Linked DNA regions of Homo sapiens: regions 2, 3, 4, 5, 6 and 7 are each linked to region 1. Evidence: promoter capture Hi-C in 16 types of primary human blood cells and fetal thymus (Javierre and others, 2016). All regions are on one chromosome and are shown on one strand. The core of a region is centred on a gene start or on the middle of the fragment in contact, and the rest is flanking DNA. Distances in the headings are between cores, read along the strand shown. Region 1 holds the start of TEP1 (telomerase associated protein 1). Region 2 holds the start of TRY-GTA5-3 (tRNA-Tyr (anticodon GTA) 5-3). Region 3 has its middle 3.7 kb from the start of TRP-TGG1-1. Region 4 has its middle 3.9 kb from the start of TRT-TGT3-1. Region 5 overlaps RNASE11-AS1 (RNASE11 and RNASE12 antisense RNA 1). Region 6 has its middle 13 kb from the start of RNASE9. Region 7 has its middle 7.0 kb from the start of RNASE9.

Region 1 (3,077 bases), core at 170-2,669:
AGAACACTTCCAAGAAGACCTGAATGACTAACAATCCAGGGCCAAAAAGGACAACAATATCTCACTGGACGTCAGTGTGACAAACACGTAAAAAATGATGGCTTCTGTGCCCAATACACTTTGCTCATGTCGTTGCCCTATATAAGCCCCCAAGGAAAGGAGTGGGGAAACTCAGAATTGACTCAGATTTTTTTTAAAAGAGATCTCAAGCCAAAAATAAACAGAAAAATAAGGACAGTTTATTTGAGCAACATAGTGAGACTGTCCTATCCTTAAAAGGACAGTCTCACTATTTTGCTCATTTTATTGTTTTGCACCCTGGAGTTTTTGAAAGGAGATTCGGCTGAACCACAAATGGAAAGTTAAAGTTCCGTCCCCACTTCCATCTCTAGTTCCCTTCTCTGGAAGTAAACATTGCTCACAGTTTTATACTAACAGTTTCACAGTTTCTATGCATATGCAAATACATGCCTTCACCATCACCACTGCTTTTGCTTTTGCTTTACACAAACAGGATCATAAGTTAGATGCTATTCTGCACTTAGTATATCTCAGAGACCTTGCCCTGTTAACACATTAATACCCACCTCACTCTTTCCTTTTTTTTTTTTTTTTTTTTTTGAGGCGGAGTCTGGCTCTGTTGTTCAGCTCACTGCAATCTCTGCCTGCCGAGTTCAAGCGATTCTCCTGCCTTAGCCTTCCGAGTAACTGGGATTACAGGCGCCCACCACCATGCCCGGCTAATTTTTTTGTATTTTCAGTAGAGAGGGTTTTCACCATGTTGGTCAGGCTGGTCTCAAACTCCTGACCTCAGGTGATCCCCAACCTCCGCCTCCCAAAGTGCTGGGATTACAGGCGTGAACCACCGCGCCCGGCCTCCACCTCACTCTTCAAGTGGCTGTATGGTAGTCTAGCACATTTAAGCACAGTCTGGGTTTCTATTATCACAAACGGTTCTCATACTACCATTTGTTGGTGACAGCCACTGTCCCCTTTCGATGGGCACACAGGGCAAGGAAGTAAGAGGGGATGATTCTTACGTGGTCTCTCTTCCTGTCCCTCCCTCTCCTTCAGCCTTCTCCTCCTCCTTTCTCACCTCCCCTTTCACGCAGTATACACTCCCTCCCCTTCCCGGAGCCGCCGGGAGGAGCAGGGTGGATGCACCCCTAGCTGAGTCTCGGGTGGTTCCTAACCGGCCCCGCCAGGCACTTCCCACCCAGCTCTCAGCCTCAGAGCCCAGCGCCCTAGACCCAGGGCCAGGGCAAGTTCTGCCTGCGCTCGGACCCTACCTTAGACTGGGGCTGGAAACCCTGGGTGCCTGACCTGGGGCGTCCGATTCCCGCAGCAGGAAGCAGAAACTTCGCTCTGGATTCTGCCGGTGGGAAGGGTGGCAGCCGGGGGAGGAGCCGGATGCGGATCTGAGAAGAGACGGTGCGGGCGGAGACTCTCGGGCCCGGGCGGGGCGCAGCAGCTGCTGGAAGGGCAGCGAGCCGAGGGCCGGGCAAGACGACATGCCAGGGCTGCGACGCGAATGCCCAGGACCCCTGCCGCCTTTTCTGGGGCCCGAGTTTAGTTTGTTATTGTTTCTATTTTTTTTCCCTTTCTGGTCCTATTTTCTCCTGTCCCTAGGGCTTCCCCCTCTACCAAATTCGTCTCCTCTGGCTAATTTTCGTCTTTTTTTCTCCCATTAACTCTTCAAACACCGTTTCCTGGAAAAGATTTTAGCATGCTCGCTGCCTAGCTGTACACCTCTCCTTCCTAATATCAAAGACGGTCAGACTCAATTCATCCTAAAGTTCCTTTGAGGAACTCCTTAAAAGGAGACGGAAAGCGGAAAGCAACCGCCTGTAACCAAGTGTAGACATCAGTCAATCAAAGTTCGCTGAACTGAGAGCAAGTGCCTCCCCTCCTGTTGATCAGAAGAGAGATCCGTGGATCACACAGAATCTATCTGGAGCCATCCTGAATGATTAATGCTGAACCCTTTCCAGGAAGATGGAACCAGGCTTAGGAAAGAGACAAGTGACCCTTAGGTTAATAATCCTAGCTTCATAAAGAGAGGACCAAACATAGTAGCAGGAGAAATATGCTTTCTGCCTTTATATAAAGCAGATTAGCTGTCTTCTGGAAAATATCATTGCTTTCCTTAGAGAGGTACCCTTGAGTCTCAGGTAACAGCTGAGCTTCCGCTCAGAATTGAGGGCATTCTGTCCTCTATTAACTGAGCCAGTACCCCTTTCCTTCCTTAGAAACCTCTATTGCCACCAGTCCCAACACTCCCTGCAATGGTCTTTATGTTTGTGTCTCCCCAAAATTTATATATTGAAACCCTAATCCCAATGCGATGGTATTTAGGGTGGGATCTCTGGGAGGTCATTAGGTCATGGAGTTTAGAATACTCATAAATGGGATTGGTGGCCTCATAAGGAGAGACGGAAGAGCTAGCTAGCTCTTTTTCCACGATATGAGGATACAAGAAAACAGCCATCTGCAATCCCAAGGAAGACCCTCATCTTCAGAGGCAGACCATGCTGGCAATCTGATCTTGGACTTCCATTCTCTAGAACTGTGAGAAATAATATTTGTTGTTTAAGCCACCCGGTCTACGGTAATTTGTTATAGCAACCTGAACTAAAACATTTCCTTTTTATAACAAATATTTTAAAGCTCTTTTTATTTTTCTGAAACATAATTCGTAAAGAATGTAACTTACCCCCACGCACAATTTTAAACCAAAATTTAAAGACAAAAAGTAGAGACAGGGTTTTGCTATGTTGCCCAGGCTCTCTACCTCCAGGGCTCAAATAGTCCTCCTACCTTGGCCTCCCAAAGTGCTTGGATTACAGGCATAAGCCACCATGCCTGGCCAAAAAATTAGTAAAATCTCTTAAAGAGATATAAAGGAGTCTACGGCCATACCACCCCGAACGCGCCCGATCTCCTCTGATCTTGGAAGCTGAGCAGGGTTGGGCTTGGTTAGTACTTGGATGGGAGATAAAAGGAATACTAGAAAGAATATGACTTATAATTAAATACTATATGTTTAGATATGTAAATGTTTGTGTATAACATTCAAG
Region 2 (3,077 bases), core at 347-2,846, 240 kb after region 1:
CTTCAGGAGTAAGAGGGAAAATGATTTTGAGCCTAGTATATTGGTTTTCTAGGGCTAACATCATAAAATACCACAGACAGGGTAGCTTTAACAACAGGAATTCATTTTCTTACAATTCTAGAGGTTTGAAGCCCAAGATCAAGCTACTGGTTTCTGAGACCTCTCTTTGGCTTGCAGATGGCTACCTTCTCTCTCTGTCCTTACACAGTTCATCCTTTATTTGCATACATCTCTGGTGTCTCTCTGTGTCCAGATTTTTTTCTTCTTATAAGGGTATTAGTCAGATTGGATTATGGCACACCCTAACAGCCTCTAACTTAATCACCATGTTAAAGGTGCTATCCTATAGTCACATTCTGGTGTATGGTGATTGGGGCTTTAGCATATTAAATTTTGTAAAGACACAGTTCAGCCCATAATACCTCCAATTCTATTTTCAGCATAAATAGCAGTCAAAAGAGAGTTTACATTGAGGGCACTTGGTTGGGGGGTGTTCTAGAACTTATATCTTCATTAAGATCCATGGATGCATTCTAAAGGAATTGCTCAAGGTTGAACTCCTGAAAATAAAAAATAAAATCACAAAACAGTGAGATGCAAAAAATTTATGAGCAAGGAAAGAAATAGAACTTATATGTAAATGTAAATAATTGTTAAGACATTGTTTTAATATACATGAATTCAATTTTCTAACATGTTATTCAAATATTTCATCTAGTTTCATAAGAATATCAGTTATAGTGTCACCTAATGGCCATAAAAATCAATGACTTGGAGATAAAAATCCCAGATTATATAAAAAATTTGAAGATAGTAGAGAAAGCAATGACTTGAAGAATGAGCAGACTCCCAAGGCCACAGCATAGGCTGTGGGAAGCTGGGTAATCCGGAAAGGCCTTGCTAGGTTTCTCCTGGGAGAGTGTGGATGCTGGCTGGCAAAGCCTTTGACCAGGCAGAGATGCAGCCACGTAGTTTTGGTGCGTGCGTGTGCAAAAGAATACGGCAGCTCCTTCGAGCCGGAATCGAACCAGCGACCTAAGGATGTCCACAAATGTTTCTACAGGCTACAGTCCTCCGCTCTACCAGCTGAGCTATCGAAGGGCGCACGTTTCTGGGGTTGGGTCATTGATCTTTCAGCAAATGCAAGACTCCTTGCAACTCTAGTCGTCCAATAAGCTTTAAGTTGGTTGGAACTCGCCTTAGAGAGATAATCCTGCGCCGATCGCCACCGCGCTCCTTTTGCGGCGGAACAAAATCCTCTGGCTGTGGTTGACTGGCTTTCCCCGGCATCGATAACAACGACCCATGAGGGGCGAGCCGGGTAGGGGGCGTGGGGGTAGTGGTGGGAGTGTGCTCTCACTTGCTATCTTCTTCCTCCTGTGCATCCCCCTTTCTACAGGTGAGGATGACAGACCTCAGTGGCAAAAAAAAAAAAAAGTGAGAGGGTGAGAGGCAGAGGGGTTGGCGAGGTGGATGCAGGGTGCGGGGGTCCGGTGAGGGAAGGGTTGCTGGAGGAGAAAGGAGGAGACCTGGAATGGACACTGGTAGAAGGCTTCCAACCCCAGCCGAGCCGCAGGGTCTGGTGGTGGCCGGTAATGAGGCCCTTCCCTAACACTCTGACCTCCCTACACCTTCCACTGCTCTCCCACCCCCTCATCCCCCACCCCCGTTCTTCCTCCCGATGCGCTTTCTGCCTTCTACCTACAGTATCCTAAGTTCACGTATTGGCCCGTTGAGGTGTACTGGGAAGTGAGGGAAAGAACAAATAGAATTAGGTGAGGAGACCCCTCCCAGGGATTGCAGAGGCACATGTAATACCCCTCCTCCCTCGGGGCCAATCTGGTGGTTGGCTTCCCTCCTCTGCAAACCAATCAGAAATATTTTGCCACTTGCAACTTCTAGAAGTAGGACAAGGCTCTGTGGGCTCTGAAAAAGCAAAGGGGCAAGGACCAGCCTGAGCAACACGGCAAAACCTTATCTTTACAAAAATTACAAAAATTAGCTGGGTGTGGTAGCACAAGCTTGTAGTCCCAGCTACTTGGGAGGCTGAGGTGGGAGGATTGCTTGAGGCCAGGAGTTCAAGGCTACAGTGAGCTATGATTATGCCCCTGAATTCTAGCCTGGGTGACAGAAGAGACCCTGTCTAAAAAAAAAAAAAAAAAATAGGGGATGGGTGAAGTAGAAGACAGAAGTGTCAGTGTTGGACTGCTTACCCTGACCCCATGTGTTTGACAATGTTTCAGATCTTATCTGGTGTGTGTCACTATATCGGGGGACCTGCCCCGATAATCATGTAGGTTCTTTTCTATTTTCCTAAGCATCGACTGGCTTGAGAAATAAAAGGACAGAGTACAAAAGAGAGAAATTTTAAAGCTGGGCATCCGGGGGAGACATCACACATTGGTAGGATCCGTGATGCCCCACAAGCCACAAAAACCAGCAAGTTTTTATTAGGGAGTTTCAAAAGGGGAGGGAGATACGAATAGGTGTCGGTGACAGACATCAAGTACTTAACAGGGTAATAGAATATCACAAGGCAAGTGGAGACAGGGCGAGATCACAGGACCACAGGACCGAAGTGAAATTAAAATTGCTAATGAAGTTTTGGCACCATTGTCATTGATAACATCTTATCAGGAGACAGGGTTTTGAGATCAACCGGTCTGACCAAAGTTTATTAGGCGGGAATTTCCTCTTCCTAATAAGCCTGGGAGTGCTATGGGAGACTGGAGTTTATTTCACCTCTGCAATCTCGACCATAAGAGACAGGTACGCCCCGGGGGGGGCCAGTTCAGAGACCTACCCCTAGGTGCGCATTCTCTTTCTCAGGGACGTTCCATGCTGAGAAAAGGAATTCAGCGATATTTCTCCCGTTTGCTTTTGAAAGAAGAGAAATATGGCTCTGTTCCCCCCGGCTCACCGGCGGTCAGAGTTTAAGGTTATCTCTCTTATTCCCTGAACATTGCTGTTATACTGTTCTTTTTTCAGGGTGCCCACATTTCATATTGCTCAAACACACATGCTGTACAATTTGTGTACTTAACGCAATTATTACAGGGTCCTGAGACAATATACAT
Region 3 (3,077 bases), core at 250-2,749, 220 kb after region 1:
ACATCCCATGCTCATGGATGGATAGAATCAACATTGTGAAAATGACCATACTGCCAAAAGCAATCTACAGATTCAATACAATTCCCATAAAAATACCATCGTCATTCTTCACAGAACTAGAAAAAAAAATCCTAAAATTCACATGAATCCAAAAAAAGAGCCTGCATAGCCCCCAAGCAAAGTTAAGTGTAAAGAACAAATCTGGAGGCATCACATTACCTGTCTTCAAACTATACTGCAAGGCTACAGTTACCAAAACAGCGTGGTACCAGTAAAACAAAACAAAACATGTAGACCAATGTAACAGAATAGAGAACCCAGAAAAAAAACCAACTACTTACAGTCAACTAATCTTTGACAAAGCATACAAAAACATAAGTGGGGAAAGGACGCCCTATTCAACAAATGGTGCTGGGATAATTGGCAAGCCATATGTAAAGGAATGATATTGGATTCTCATCTCTCATCTTATACAAAAATCAACTCAAGATGGATCAAAGACCTGAAATCATAAAAATTCTAGAAGATAGCATCAGAAAAACTCTTCTAAACATTGACTTAGGCAAATAATTCATTACCAAGAACCCAAAAGCAAATGCAGCAAAAACAAAAATAAATGAGACCTAATTAAACTAAAAAGCTTCTGCATAGCAAAAGAAATAATCAGCAGAGTAAAAGACAACCCACAGAGTGAGAGAAAATATTCACGAACTATGCATCCAACACAGGATTCAAATATCCAGAATCTACAAGGAAATAAAACAAATCAGCAAGAAAAAAGTAAATAATCCCATGAAAAAGTGGGCAAAGGACATGAATAGACATTTCTCAAAAGGAGATATACAAGTGGCCAATAAACATGAAAAAATACTCAACATCACTAATTATCAGGGAAATGCAAATTAAAACCACAGTGAGATACCACCTTGCTCCTGCAAGAATGGCCATAATTTAAAAATCAAAAAATAATAGATGTTGGGGTGGATGTGGTAAAAAAAGGAACATTTTGTACACTGCTGGTGGGAATGTAAACTAGTACAACCACTATGGAAAACAATATGGAGATTCCTTAAAGAACTGAAAGTAGAACTACCATTCAATCCACCAATCCCACGACTGAGTATCTACCCAAAGGAATAGAAGGCATTATATGAAAAAGACACTTGCATACACATGTTTATTTACAGCAGCACAATTTGCAAGTGCAAAAATATGGAAGCAACATAAATGTCCATCAACAAATGAGTGGATAAAGAAAATGTGCTATATTGGCCGGGCATGGTGACTCACGCCTGTAATTCCAGCACTTTGGGAGATGGAGGTGGGTGGATCACTTGAGGCCAGGAGTTAGAGACCAGCCTGGCCAACATGGTGAAACCCTGTCTCTACTAACCAGCTATGGTGGTGCATGCCTGTAATCCCAGCTACTCGCGAGGCTGAGGCAGGAGAATCATTTGAATCCAGGAGGCAGAGGTTACAGTGAGCCAAGAACGTGCCACTGCACTCCTGCCTGGGTGTCAGAGTGAGACTCCGGCTCAAAAAAACAAAAATAAAGTGGTACATATACACCATGGAATACTACTCAGCCATAAAAAGAAACAAAATAATGGCATTGGATGGAGTTGGAGACCATTATTGTAAGTGAAATAACTCAGGAATGGAAAACCAAATATTGTATGTTCTCACTTACAAGTGAGAGCTAAGCTATGAGGATGCAAAGGCATAAGGAGGAAATAATGGACTTTGGGAACTTGGGGAAATGGTGGGAGGGCACTAAAAGATAAAAGACTCCATATTGCCTACAGTATACACTGCTCGGGTGATGGGTGCACCAAAATCTCAGAAATCACCGCTAAAGAACTTCATGTAACCAAAAACTACCTGTTCCCCCAAAACAATTGAAATAAAATAAATAAATAACAAAGAACACATTGACTATTTCAAATAAGAGGACAAGATCAGTTGTGCCAAACTCTGCTGAGGTAAGTATAAAGAGTAACATATGCTTGCTGAGTTTAGCATCATTGTCATTATCAATGATGTCATTAAGAGCTTCATTTATTTATTTAATTTTTGAGACCAGGTCTCACCCTTTGGCCCAGGCTGGAGTGCAGTGATGCGATCTTGGCTGACTGTAGCCTCGAAATCCCAGGCTCAAACAATCCCCCTTGTTGGCTTCCCAGCATGCTGGGATTGTAGGCGTGAGCCACTGCACCTGGCCTTATTCAGAGTTTTATATGTAAAATGATGCAAACAGAAGCATTTTCTACTTCTTCTAAATTAAGTATATTCTGTCTTAACTGTATGTTTAAAAACAAAATACAAATTTCATGTCAATGAAGGTAAGATCTTTGAAAGGAAAGCTTAGAAATAAATATCAATAAACAGATTTTTATTTATTCTTTTATTTAATCACAAACTTTCATGGACACACAAGTTTGTATCACTGTTATATGCATGCACACATTCACATGCGCACTCAATCTACACATACCATCATACCAAAATTTCAGGCAAATTTATTTCATATAATAGTATGAATAAAGACGCTTGTCATGGTACCTTTATAGAAATTCGAAGCCAGGCGCGGTGGCTCACGCTTGTAATCCCAGCACTTTGGGGAGGGTGAGGCTAGCAGATCACCTGAGGTCGGGAGTTCCAGACCAGCCTGACCAACAAGGATAAACCCCGTCTCTGCTAAAAATACAAAATTAGCTGGGTGTGGTGGCACGTGCCTATAATCCCAGCTACTCGGGAGGCTGAGGCAGGAGAATCGCTTGAACCCGGGAGGCAGAGGTTGCAGTGAGCTGAGATCACGCCATTGGTTTCCAGCCCGGACAACAGAGTAAGACTCCATCTCAAAAACAGAAAAAAAATTATATATTTATATATTCATATGTATTATGTCTACCCCAAAAGTCTATGAATTCCTTGATGGCAGGGGCCAATATTTGTACCTCTAACATACCAACTTACTTCCTAGAACACAGTATTCAACAAATTTTATTGAATTAAATTGAGCCCAAAGTTATTTTTCACAATGAAACACATGTTGAAAATGGATGGTTTAACATGCT
Region 4 (3,077 bases), core at 229-2,728, 200 kb after region 1:
ATTCTCATTCTTCCAGGCCCTTACTCCACAATTCACTCGAGTTGGCGTGTCTGACGCTACGAAACTCCAAAAGCCCCTTCTACTAGTTTATTAGACTTAGCATCAGCAAACCTGGTTGTGCTCCAGTGTGTTCTGGCCCATCCTGAGCACTTCCTCTGCTGAGCAACTTGACCCCTAGTTGTAATCTTAGCAATATTTTTAATTGCTTTTTTTGTTGTTTGTCTGTATTTCTTCCATTTCCCCTCAACTTTTCATTTGGAAAAACTTTAATCCTAATGTGGAAATAAATGAACACCAGTTAATGAGAACCAGCAAAAGCTATTCAGAGCTTTCTATAGCAAAGGAGTTAGCAGCCTTCACTTGTGATTTTTTAAAAATATAATTTCCATATTATTTTTCTCTAGAGAGAGTTTTTCTTCAATCCTTAAGGACTCACCTTCTTATATGGGCTTTGGTAGGGGTCATGTGGCAGCACCCATAGGTCTGAATCAGGGTGGCGGTGTTCGGTCCTTGCAAGCTTCACAAGATTAATTCCTGTCTACCTTGCTGTGAATGACACAACTCCCACCGTAACAGAATTTCACGAACAACTTGGGAAGCCCATAGGCGTCAAAGATACTAGCTTCAGAAATGTCCCTGACAGGTGCAGTCTCTACTACGTTTTGAATGATGAACTTCTTAATAGTCTTGCCTTTGGGTAGGCATAGGGCATAATTCATGTAGCAAATAGGCTGCACGTGGCTGTGGCCCTTTTTGGCATGACCATTGTTATTTCTTTTCTTTGCCATCTTGGAAGTGGGGACCCAAAAGAACGTCACTTGTGATTTGGCAGAGACTCAAAGGCAAGCAGAGGAGTGGGAAAACTTTATAGTGGACAAAGGGAAGCCTTCAAGTGTGCCCTGACTGGAGACTGTGGCATGGGGACACGGTGGGCAGGCTAACTAGAAGCGGGGCATCCTATGTGATTGGTTAGGGATGCATATTTGGCTTTCTCTGGTTGATGCTAACTTGGAAACAGAAACAAATAATAGGAAAGGTGTTAATTATTCATAAATTCCTAGCCACTGGGTCTGGTTTTTACAGAGGTTATTGTTTGGCTTCCTGGGCTGGTTGCTTAGAGATAGTGGTCTGACTTCCTAAAAGTCTGGCTTAAAGGCAATGGACTGGCCGGGCGCTGTGGTTCACGCCTGTAATCCCAGCACTCTGGGAGGCTGAGGCAGGCGGATCACCTGAGGGTCAGGAGTTCGAGACCAGCGTGACCAAAATGGTGAAACCCTGTCTCTACTAAAAATACAAAATTAGCCTGGCGTGGTGGTGCATACCTGTAATCCCAGCTACTCAGGAGGCTGAGGCAAGAGGATTGCTTGAACCCAGGAGGCAGAGATAGCCAGTGATAGGCGGTGAGCCAAGATAGTGCCATTGCACTCCAGCCTGGGCAACAAGAGTGAAAATCCGTCTCAAAAAAATAAATAAATAAAAGAGAGAGAGAGATAATGGGCTGGCTTCCTGTGCTGGTCACTGTGGGTTGACTTCCTGCACTGGCTGTTGTAGGTTAGTGCTGGTCAGAGGTCTATTTTTATATATGTTCTGGCCACTGTCTGTTTGTATAGTAATACCCTAGGGAAAAGTTAAAAAAACGGTACGGTAAAACCTGTATACCCTTTAACTAGAACACCCATTATTAGGAACATTTGCATCCTTCTTACCTACCCTTCCCCCTGTTTACATGTACTATCCAAGAGCAGAATATTAGTACCATAACACACCCAAGAAAATTTATAATTCCTTATATGCTAGTAGACATACAGTCCATATTCAGATTTCCCCACTTACCCACTCCCTATTAAAATAATGTAAATTCTAACAATATATCTCACTGCATTTAGTTGTAACATCTCTTTGGTCTCTTTTAATCTAGAAAATTCCCCTCCTCTTAGACTTTCTTTTCTCATGGCAGTTGTCTTACAGGAAGTCTCACATTCTGAATGTGATTATTTCCTCATATAAGATTCAGTTCAATATTTACTTATTTCCTCATGATTAGATTCAGCTTAAATATTTTTGTCAAGGACCCTACTACTAATTTTCCAGGATAGATTGTCTAGGGTCTAGGTAGGACTGAATTTCTAGTAAACCAAGCAGGAAGAATGAAGTCTAATGACTGATACTTATTTACATGACAGTGCACTATTTCAAGGAGCTTCTGTTCAGAAAAGGAAACTATTATGTCATCCTTTGGGGAAGACTTTGTAATTTTCAGCTTCATTGGCTATAGAATATTTTTAAAGGTCAGGAATTTATATCCCAGAAAAGTAGGCACAATTACCAGGACTCAACCAATTATTCACTGTAACAACATCCACGAACACCTATGACAGGCATACTGGTTTCCAAGATACATAGACTGTTTATCTCAGACATCAAGGAACGTGAGTTTGCAAAGCTTTAGCCACACACACACACACACACACACACACACACGTACTTGCCTCGATTTGTACTTTCTCAAAGTTTTCTTCAGATTTCCACAGACATCTTACCTTCTGGAAACTGAGGCTACACTCACTCTGGTGATTATCAGTTACCACTTGTATTGCCATCTAACTGTAGTGTGTGTCTCTGTGTGTTTGTTCATTCTTCTAGGTTTGTATTGTATATATTGTAAAAGGTGGAGAAGATATTTTCTTTTATTCAAATTCAAGTTCCCAATGAGCAAGGATAATATTCTTGTTTGTCTTCTGCTCCTCCCCAAACCTGATCAAATGATAAGCACAGATTTATTTGGTGGATGTGAAGTGGGCAAGATTCTATTTCCGAGACCCAAAAGGCTTCCTGGCACATGCACCCCACTGGCTTGCCTCAAATGTTTAAACCCATTATAAACACTCCTGTGTGTTCACTGAGAAGCTGACTGTGTTTTGAGCACTTGGTACACTATGGAATTAAAGTCAGGGACTAGGAAAAGCAGTAGAGGGAAATCAAAGAAGAAATTAAATTGTACATCAGACACGATCTTTTTAAACCCAAAGCACCAAGACTATTACAATATTTATGGGGACTGAGTAGGTGAAGGAGGA
Region 5 (3,077 bases), core at 345-2,844, 190 kb after region 1:
TAGAACAGAGATTTCTACAGGAAAGCAGACAGATGTTGTCTCTGCCCTCAAGAAACAGTCAGACAATTTTTTAAAGCTAAGAAATATAATAAATTTATTATGTTAGTGATAAGGACCGCAAGGGAAATTACAGGGTTTTATGCAAGCAAAACAGACTACTTCACTTGTTCTGGGTTTTCTGGGAAGGCTTGTCTAAGGAAAGGAAGGATGCATAGGTTCACCAGGCAGAATGGGGAAGGTGAGTGGAGTAAGGAACACTCCACAGTGAGAGAACCAGACTATGTGGCTGCAGCATGAGCTGTGGTACCCGGTGGCAGAGGCGCTGCTTGGATGCGCCCCAGTGGAAACATGGGAGGCAGTGGACAGGTCTCCCACAAGTGTGAAGAAGGCACTGAAGCAACTGGAAGCTCACACCACCAAGAAGGGGTGCACCTTCGCCAGCAGAGTTGGATGGGCATTTCTGACTGCACTACGTGAAGTATACGCTCAGTCCCTGCGGGACATGGCACAGCTAAAGGACCTTCAGGCCTAAGTTGGGTCTCTGGGGGCCCAAATGCACAGCTTGGAGCAAAACCTGGGTGTAAAGGACCTCCAGGTGCAAGCAGGGTGCTTACAGGCTCAGATAAACAGCCTGGAGCAGGAGCTGGAAATAACTGTTGGCATGACCTTGAGCCCATCCTCCAGGCCGGACACTCGCGCTTGGTCTGATCCTGAGGAGGAGGCTCCTCTGCTGTGGGCTTGTCCTGTGATCCATCAGAAGGTAGAACATGAGCAGCTGATGGGACCCTAGGGGAGAGCCCAGAGGCCCCCCGCAGTGGTGGAATACACCTCCTATAGTGCTTCTCTTTCCACTGAGTTTTGGGAGTTAGGTAAGCAATGCAAGGAGCACCCAGGGGAGCCCCCCCTGCCTGGCTACCCCATTTTGGGGATGAGGGGGCTGACAGCGTTTCTTGCTCTGCCTCCGAGATGGAGAAGCTGGCTTCTATCATAACTCACCCCTCCCTTCATCAGTGGCTGCAGCTGTGCCGATGGTTGGCACAAGGGCAAGGTGATCACATGTTAATTGAGTGGCTGATGGCAGCCATATGGACTGTTAGGAAGGATGCTGGAGAGATACCAGAAATTATGAGTCAATGGCAATCATAGCTGATTTGGTACAGGTACTCCTGGAGATGGGCATGCGGCAGGCTATGTTGGATCTGAATCCCTAGAGGCCAGATGATGAACATTTTATCTCCCACGTGAGGGATCTTGTGCTGACTGGCAGCCTCTGAGTGCTTTTGGCTCTCTAGCTGCTGTTCTTACTCCATATGTGGGGTGCCACATACATGAAGTGACTACTGCTATGGCAGCCCTTGAGGAGGCAGAAGGCCATCAGCGGGATTGGGGAATCCGCGCCATAAAGAAGGGGAAGGTGCCCCCTTCACAGGTAACCACCCCACGAAATAAAAAGGGACCCCAGCGGGTGACCCGCATGCAGATGTGGATGGATTTACTTGCAGCCGGGGTTGCTCGGGAGGAAACTGAGAGGAAACCCAATGGAATGCTGTTGGCTCTGTGGAGGCAATTGTACCCCCAGCAGCAATTCCGGAAAATACCCGAGGGGGCAAAATACTGTTGCTCAACCCAGCCCCGCGGGGACACGGCAGCTCAAGGATGATTTGCAGACTGGTGAAGAGACTGGGCCCTTCCTGTTTGATTAGGGAACTGGCCGAGGTGCTTGGCTTGGTGGGGGGCGCCGGACGACTGGAGGCCTCATGTGGAACTGGGAATCCACTAGTCCCCCACCAGTGTACAGCAGGTCCTAGCACTGGTATATACTGGTGCAGACTGCAGTCTTGTTTATGGGAACCCGGATAAGTTTCCAGGAAAAGCTGCATTCATTGATGGTTATGCGGGCCAGTCAGTGAAAGTGAAACCTGTGTCTCTGCATCTTGGAATTGGCCGCTTGGCTTCCAGCCTGTACGCTATGTATGTTTCTCCTATACCTGAATATATTCTGGGGGTGGACATTTTGCATGGTCTGGACTTACACACCACGGCCAGAGAATTCAGACTCCAGGTTCGTGTAGTAAAGCCGGTACTGCGTGGGCATATACATATCACCAGCCCCAAGTTCTGCCACAACCCCGACAGGTTACCTCCATTCATCAATACCGTTTGTCAGAGGGGCATACAGAGATAACCAAGACGATTAAGAAGTTAGAGGAGGTGCAAATAGTGCCTGACATCCATATCCCCTACAGTTCCCTGGGATGTCCAGTCAGAAAGCCTGATGGGACTTGGAGGATGAGAGTGGATTACCAGGAGCTGAATAAGGTGACACCCCCTCTGCATGCAGCTGTACCATGGATTTGAGGGACCACCTGACAATGGAACTGGGACAGTACCACTTTGTAGTGGACTTAGCTAATGCACTCTTCTCCATCGACATTGCTCCAGAGAGCCAAAAATAATTTGTCTTCACATGGGAAGGGTGGCAATGGACGTTTACTGTGCTGCCACAGGGCTATGTGCATAGCCCCACCATTCGTCATGATCTTGTTGCCATGGACTTAGATGCCTGGAAATGTCCAAAAGGGGTTTGCCTGTTTCATTACATTGATGGTGTCATGTTAACCTCTGATTCTCTTGCAGATTAAGAAGCAGCAATGCCCCTCTTGTGGCAAGAGTTGGCAGCGTGCGGTTGGTATGTCAATGCATCCAAGGTCCAAGGGCCTGGATTGTCTGCCAAATGCTTGGGAGTTGTTTGATCAGGTAAGACAAATGCCATACCAGAGGCCATCATTGACGAAATCCAGGCATGCCCCTGACCCACCACGGTGAGGCAACTGCAGACCGTTGTGGGCCTCGTGGGGTATTGGCGGGTATTCGTGCCCCATTTGACTCAAATGATAAAACTGTTGTACCAGTGAACAAAAAAGGGAGCTACGTGGGATTGGGATGATGAGGCTGAAACAGGCTTTCTGGCTGCCAAGCAGGCCATTCAGCAAGCACCAGACTTACAAGTAATTGATCAGGGGCACCCATTTGAAGTTGATGTACTTGTAACCACAGATGGTTTCAGCTGGGGCCTA
Region 6 (3,077 bases), core at 190-2,689, 160 kb after region 1:
CTGCTGAGGTGCTTGCTGAAGGCAAAGAGAATACAGAATATGTAGTAGAAGGTCATCAATACCAGCTATGACCACGTGACCAGCTGCAGAAACAAGGACTGTAACTGTCATGAGTATTTCCTCCTTCTTTTGTTAAATGCATGTTTGTGCATGTATACACTATTACTAAGAAAATATCTTCATTTTATTTCCTTTATCATGTGACATAAGATTTATTGACTTCATATCAGCATGTAAGTATTGTTAACTTTATGTAATAGTATTTGGGTTGGAGATTGGTGCGTTTCCAATTGTATGAAGGATAGTTGTATTATGTTAGGCATAATTATAACCTTATTATTGTCTTTATTTGAAGATTATGTGTGTTCTCAGGAGATGCGTATGGATTCAAGTTGACAAGCGGTGGACTTGTGATGGTTGTTACTGAGTGTCAACTTGATTGGATTGAAGGATGCAAAGTATTGATCCTGGGTGTGTCTGTGAGGGTGTTGTCAAAGGACATTGACTTTTGGCGAGGGGCAGACCCACCCACCCTTAATCTGGTGGGCACAATCTAATCAGCAGGCAGAAAAATGTGACAAGGCGAGACTGGCCTAGGCTCCCAGCCTACATCTTTCTCCCGCGCTGGATGCTTCCTGCCCTCAAACATCAGACTCCAAGCTCTTCAGTTTTGAGACTCCGACTGGCTTTCCTTGCTGCTCAAGCTTGCAGATAGCCTATTGTGGGATCTTATGATCATGTAAGTTAATACTTAATAAACTCCCCTTTATATATATATATCAATCCTATTAGTTATGTCCCTCTAGGGAACCTTGACCAACACATGTTTTGGGGTAAAATATCTTTGTTTTCTTCCTTGTCTCATAATGTTATGCCAGAGTCAGATTGGAAAGTAAGTCACGATATATAGGGTTAAACAAAACTCATCTGATGATAATTTATGGTTTGTAGGGCATGACTCCCTAGACCCCTTAGATAGGAATTTAGGTAAGATAAAAAAAAATCAGAGCTTAGTCCTCAAATGAGATGTTACCTCTCCCCAGTTAATATAGCTATTATCAAAAAGAAAAATATATAGCAGATTCTGGTGAGGATGTGGAGAAAGGGGAATGTTCATACACTACTGGTAGGAATGTAAATTAGTATAGCCACTATAGAGAACAGTATGGAGATGCCTTAAAAAACTAAAAATAAAACTAACAAATGATCCAGCAATCCCACTGCTGGGTATATACCCAAAAGAAAGGAAATCAATATATCAAAGTGGTATCTGCACGCTTATGTTTATTGCAACACTATTTACAATAGCCCAGTTATAGAATTAACCTAAGTGCCCATCAATGTATTAACAAATAAAGACAATGTAATATATATAAACAATGGAATACTATTCAGCCATAAAAAAAACAATGAACTTCTGTCATTTGCAGCAACATGGATGGAACTGGAGGTCATTATGTGAAGTGAAATAAGTCAGTCACAGAAAGACAAATATTGTACATTTCATTCATATCCAGGAGCTCAAAAAGTTGATCCCATGGAGGTAGAAAGTAGAATGATGGTTACCAGAGACTGGGAAAGGGTGGGAAAGGAGGGGTAAGAAAGGCTAGTTAATGGGTAGAAAAAATACAGTTAAGTAGAAGGAATAATTTCTAGCATTCAATAGCATAGTAGGGTGACTATAGTTACCAATAATTTATTGTACATTTCAAAATAGCTAGAAGAAAAGACTTGGAATGTTCCCAACACAAAGAAATGATAAATGTTTGAGGTAGTGGATATCCTAGTTACCCTAATTTGATATTACACATTGTATGCATGTATCGAAGTATCCAGTGTATCTCATAAGTAGATACAATTATAATGTATTAATTAAAAAAGAAAGGAAAAAAAAAAAGACTGGGAACATCTTCCAGCCAAGATGGATAACACAGACCTGATTTACTTCCCCATCCAAAACCATAAAAAAACTAACAAAAAGCATTAAAACTTATTTTCAAGACACTGAACTTGAGGCCACGAAACACACTCATCATTGAGAGAGAGGAACCAAACAAGGTGAGCCCTACAATCACTCAGCTTGCTGTCTATAGAGATTTTAGGCAAAAGTAAAGGAAGAGTAAACTTAGAGTCTTCAGACTACCTGAGTTCAGGACATGAAACTGAGAGGTCAAAGAAGCTTGAGCCTTTAGGATAGAACATGTGAGATGAGAAAGCTGCATGGAGACATAACCTTAGAGATCTGCACAGGGCTCCTGTAATGGTCAATACCGAGTGTCAACTTGATTGGATTGAAGGATGTAAATGATTGATCCTGGGTGTGTCTGTGAGGGTGTTGCCAAAGGAGATTAACATTTGAGTCAGTGGGCTGGGACAGGCAGACCCACCCTTAATCTGGGTAGTAGTGGTCGATAATTAACTCCGGACTAAGCGCTTCTTCAGAGCTGTCTAACAAATCATAAAGTCAAGATCCAAAAGGATCAAAGTGGTTCCAAGTAGCTTAAACGTATCCTTGAACAACACTCAAGAAGATTTATAGGAATATACAAATATTCCTACAAGGTAAGCCAACAATGTAGAATTCAAAACATCTGAAATCCAATCAAAGATTACCAAGCATGTAAAAGAGCAGGAAAACACAAACCTTTATGAGGAGAACAATCAGTCAATGGAAACCGAACCAGAGCAATTACAAATTTCAGAATTAACAGAGAAACAGTTACCACAACTGAATTCTACACAGGCAAAAGAAAGGGTTGAGTTTTAGATGATTAAAAAAAAAATCAAACTTTTAGAAATAAAAACTACAGTGTGTGAAATTAAAAAAAATATACACTGGTTGCGATTAATGGCAGATTAGAAATTGCATAAGAAAAAAATAGTATACAATAAATGCAAGTAGCCCTGGAGTCTCTAAAGGGGAGAACTGGGGAAATTAAATTTTTTTGAAGATATAATGGCCAAAAGCTTTCAAAACTTGATGAAAAGTATACATTCACAGATACAAAAATCTCAGCAAGTCCCAAGAACAAAACATCAAGGTGTATCATGCTCCAAGTGAGAGGGGGAGAAAACAG
Region 7 (3,077 bases), core at 366-2,865, 140 kb after region 1:
CGTGCACTCTATTCTGTGGTATCTTCAAACATTCTTCTCAAAGAGCTGCAGGTTGTCATAGAGTGAGGGGCTTTGTGAAATTATGCTGGCAAGCAGAAATGAGCAAAAATGGCATTTACTACTTTGTCTCGCAACTTCCACTAACACAAAGGGACGGGAGCAACTGTGCTGTCTGTTCATTGGGCTAGACTTTTCTCCTATTTACTTAATCAATAACATCATAGACATCAGAAATTTTCAAAGAGAATACCAATTGGGTTTATTCTGGTTAGGAAACAAAATGCTGTGTTTATAGTTTTTCTTACTCTTGGGAATGCTTTGCCTACATTCTTTCACTGAGTAAGTATAATTTAAAGTTAGTGTTGCATCGCCACTTCATATCCATTGAAATTGCTATTAGATATTAAAAAAAGAAGTATTGATGAGGGTTTTGAGAAACTGGAACCCTAGTGCACTACTGATTGGAATGTAAAATGGTTCAGCCACTGTGGAAAACAGTATAGTAGTTTCTTAAAAAAAAAAAAAAAGAATTACCATATGATCCAGCAATTCCACTTATGCGTATATACACCAAAAAAAAAAAAAAAATGGGAAACAAGGACTCAAACAGATATTTGTTTGTCAATGTTCATAGCAACATCATTTACAGTAGCCAAATGGTGAAAACAACCAAAGCTTCCTCAATGGATGAATGGATAAACAAAATGTGTTATATACATACAATGGAATATTATTGAGCCTTCAAAAAGGAGAAAATTATGACACATGAGTAAAACTTGGAGACATCAGGCCAAGTGAAATAAGCAAGTCACAAAAGGACAAATGCTGTATGAGTCTACTTATATGAGGTATCTGGAGCAGTCAAATTCATAGAGACAGAAAGGAGAATGGTGGTTGCCAGAAACTGGTGGAAAGGATGAAAGGGGAATTATTATTTAAGTGAGTAGAGAGTTTTAGTTTTGTAAGATGAAAAAAGTTCTGGAGATGGATCACAGTGATGGTTGCACAACAATGTGAATATACCTAATGCTATTGAGCTGCACACTTAACATGATTAAAATGGTCAGTTTATGTCATGTATATTTTATTACAATTGAAATAATTAATGGGGTATCATCTCAAGGAACGCTAGCATAAATAATAAATTGTTATGTGAGTCAAAGTTGTGTACAATGTTCATTTTAACAATGAAGTTTGATATTATTGAGGATAGAGTGTTAATATATGTTGGACAATAACTATTTGAAATATTATAATCAGTGAAGCTGAAATTACAGCTTGGACTTACCATAGGGAATCTGGTGGATAGGGGCCAGGATCTTGGTTTCTTGTGCAATATTAGACTACGGGGGAAATCTGTGCAAATGAGCCTCATTCTATTTCTATGATTCTAATTCTAAAAGGCATTTGGATCGGATTTTCTATTCTGGAGAGAGAAAAGTTCATTGTGATTGTTTTCATGTCTTAGTTATTGTACTATACCATATCTTTCTTTTTTTCTTTTTTTTTTTTTTGAGATGGAGTCTCTCTCTGTCACCCAGACTGGAGTGCAGTGGCGCAATCTCGGGTCACTGCAACCTCCACCTCCCAGGTTCAAGTGATTCTCCTGTCTCAGCCTCCTGAGTAGCTGGGATTACAGGCACGGGCCACCACGCCTGGCTAATTTTTGTATTTTTAGTAGAGACAGGTTTTCGCCATTTTGGCCAGGCTGGTCTCGAACTCCTGAGCTCAGGTGATCCGCCTGCCTCAGCCTCCCAAAGTGCTGGAATTACAGGCGTGAACCACTGCGCTTGGCCATATTCTTATAAATATATTTTATATTTTATGTTGTATAACCTCCAAGATCAATGAGATGAACATGACCCAGAGAGATGGTCTGTAGAACATAGCCAGGCTAGCCCATGTGCAGAATTTCTTCAGCTCATGTACAAAAGGTTGGGTTTTAGAAGGTGTCATGGAGATTTCTAAAAGTTGGATGGTACCTTATTCACTCAGACATTTCAATGAAAAGCCATGTGCCTCCAAATGAAGATTGGTGCTGTTATTAGTCACGGTTCTCCAGAGAAAAAGAACTAATAGAGCATATATTGATACATGGAAAGAGATTTGTCATGTGGAATTGGCCCACACAATTACTGAGGCTGAGAAGCCCCACAATTTGCCATCTGCAAGCTGGGAAGCTGGTGATGGAGTTCCAGTCCAAACCCAAAGGTTCGAGAATCTGGAGAGCCAGTGTCATAAGTTCTAGTCTGAATATAAAGGTCCAAGAACCAGAAGCACTGATGTCCAAGGGCAGGAGAAGATGGACGTCTCAGTTCAAGCAGAGAGAGTCCATTTGCCCTTGCTCTGCCTTTTTGTTCCATTTAGGCCCTTAACAGATTGGACGATGCCCACCTGCATGGGTGAGGGAGATCTTTACTCAGTCTATGGATTAAATGCTAACCTTTTCCAGAAACACTCTCACACTTACACTTAGAAAAAAACGTTTTACCAGGTATCTGAGCATCCCTTAACCCAGTCAAGTTGACACAGAAAATCAACCATCACAAGTGCCTAGAAGCTTGATTTCCTGTGTTCCTCCCTTAGACACTAAAATGGAGTCTAGCCGTCCTTCGTTCTAGGCCCTTACTTACATCAACCTATTGATAAATTAGGAGCTCAGCTCTGAGTATAAAGACAGGGGTAAGGAATGGGAGGAGACTAACAGACTGGACTGGGGTAAAGCATGCAAAGAGCAATGGATGCCTCACTACCATCCCCCATTACTACTCTTTACCCCAGTTTCAGAAAGTTTTAAGCAGTAATAATAACAAGATGTTAAGAAGTTTGAAGAAGGCCGGGCGCAGTGGCTCAAGCCTGTAATCCCAGCACTTTGGGAGGCCAAGGTGGGCGTATCACCTGAAGTCGGGAGTTCGAGACCAGCCTGACTAACATGAAGAAACCCCGTCTCTACTAAAAATACAAAATTAACCAGGCGTGGTGGCACATGCCTGTAATCCCAGCTACTAGGGAGGCTGAGGCAGGAGAATCGCTTGAACCTGGGAGGCGGAGTTGCAATGAGCCAAGATCGCGCCATT

Evidence for each region. Contacts are between HindIII fragments. The CHiCAGO score rates a contact against its expected background, and 5 or more counts as called.
Region 2: a contact is called between a fragment that was not itself captured here and the fragment with the promoter of TEP1 in region 1, in 9 of 17 cell types (naive B cells, non-activated CD4 T cells, total CD8 T cells and 6 more). The highest score is 6.8, in naive B cells.
Region 3: a fragment that was not itself captured here is called in contact with the fragment with the promoter of TEP1 in region 1 in 13 of 17 cell types (naive B cells, naive CD8 T cells, erythroblasts and 10 more); the score reaches 12.2 in naive B cells.
Region 4: a fragment that was not itself captured here is called in contact with the fragment with the promoter of TEP1 in region 1 in 17 of 17 cell types (naive CD4 T cells, naive B cells, megakaryocytes and 14 more); the score reaches 18.2 in naive CD4 T cells.
Region 5: a fragment that was not itself captured here is called in contact with the fragment with the promoter of TEP1 in region 1 in 16 of 17 cell types (megakaryocytes, naive CD4 T cells, naive CD8 T cells and 13 more); the score reaches 26.4 in megakaryocytes.
Region 6: a fragment that was not itself captured here is called in contact with the fragment with the promoter of TEP1 in region 1 in 10 of 17 cell types (naive B cells, naive CD8 T cells, megakaryocytes and 7 more); the score reaches 11.8 in naive B cells.
Region 7: a contact is called between a fragment that was not itself captured here and the fragment with the promoter of TEP1 in region 1, in 13 of 17 cell types (naive B cells, naive CD4 T cells, total CD8 T cells and 10 more). The highest score is 10.1, in naive B cells.

The regions. Positions count from the first base shown.
Region 1 is chr14:20,412,082-20,415,158 of GRCh38, forward strand. It overlaps TEP1 (telomerase associated protein 1), which reads right to left and starts at 1,420. Exons shown (of 55, transcript NM_007110.5): 1 at 1,324-1,420. It also overlaps the pseudogene RNA5SP382. RefSeq lists enhancers at 258-1,174, 284-453, 1,004-1,073, 1,574-1,623. The HindIII fragment of the contact is 9,686 bases long and covers 1-3,077 here.
Region 2 is chr14:20,652,092-20,655,168 of GRCh38, forward strand. TRY-GTA5-3 (tRNA-Tyr (anticodon GTA) 5-3) reads right to left here and starts at 1,101; the gene lies at 1,008-1,101. LOC124903281 (a long non-coding RNA gene) reads left to right here and starts at 1,221. Exons shown (of 2, transcript XR_007064059.1): 1 at 1,221-1,399. The HindIII fragment of the contact is 845 bases long and covers 1,175-2,019 here.
Region 3 is chr14:20,635,162-20,638,238 of GRCh38, forward strand. No RefSeq gene overlaps it. Among named protein-coding and RNA genes, the nearest start is that of TRP-TGG1-1, 3.7 kb to the left of the region's middle. The HindIII fragment of the contact is 1,723 bases long and covers 639-2,361 here.
Region 4 is chr14:20,616,204-20,619,280 of GRCh38, forward strand. It overlaps the pseudogene RPS26P9. Among named protein-coding and RNA genes, the nearest start is that of TRT-TGT3-1, 3.9 kb to the left of the region's middle. The HindIII fragment of the contact is 1,926 bases long and covers 516-2,441 here.
Region 5 is chr14:20,600,026-20,603,102 of GRCh38, forward strand. RNASE11-AS1 (RNASE11 and RNASE12 antisense RNA 1) reads left to right here. Exons shown (of 5, transcript NR_122043.1): 4 at 2,638-2,757. Among named protein-coding and RNA genes, the nearest start is that of TRP-AGG2-5, 7.8 kb to the right of the region's middle. The HindIII fragment of the contact is 8,760 bases long and covers 1-3,077 here.
Region 6 is chr14:20,572,715-20,575,791 of GRCh38, forward strand. No RefSeq gene overlaps it. Among named protein-coding and RNA genes, the nearest start is that of RNASE9, 13 kb to the left of the region's middle. The HindIII fragment of the contact is 1,475 bases long and covers 703-2,177 here.
Region 7 is chr14:20,552,463-20,555,539 of GRCh38, forward strand. No RefSeq gene overlaps it. Among named protein-coding and RNA genes, the nearest start is that of RNASE9, 7.0 kb to the right of the region's middle. The HindIII fragment of the contact is 1,885 bases long and covers 674-2,558 here.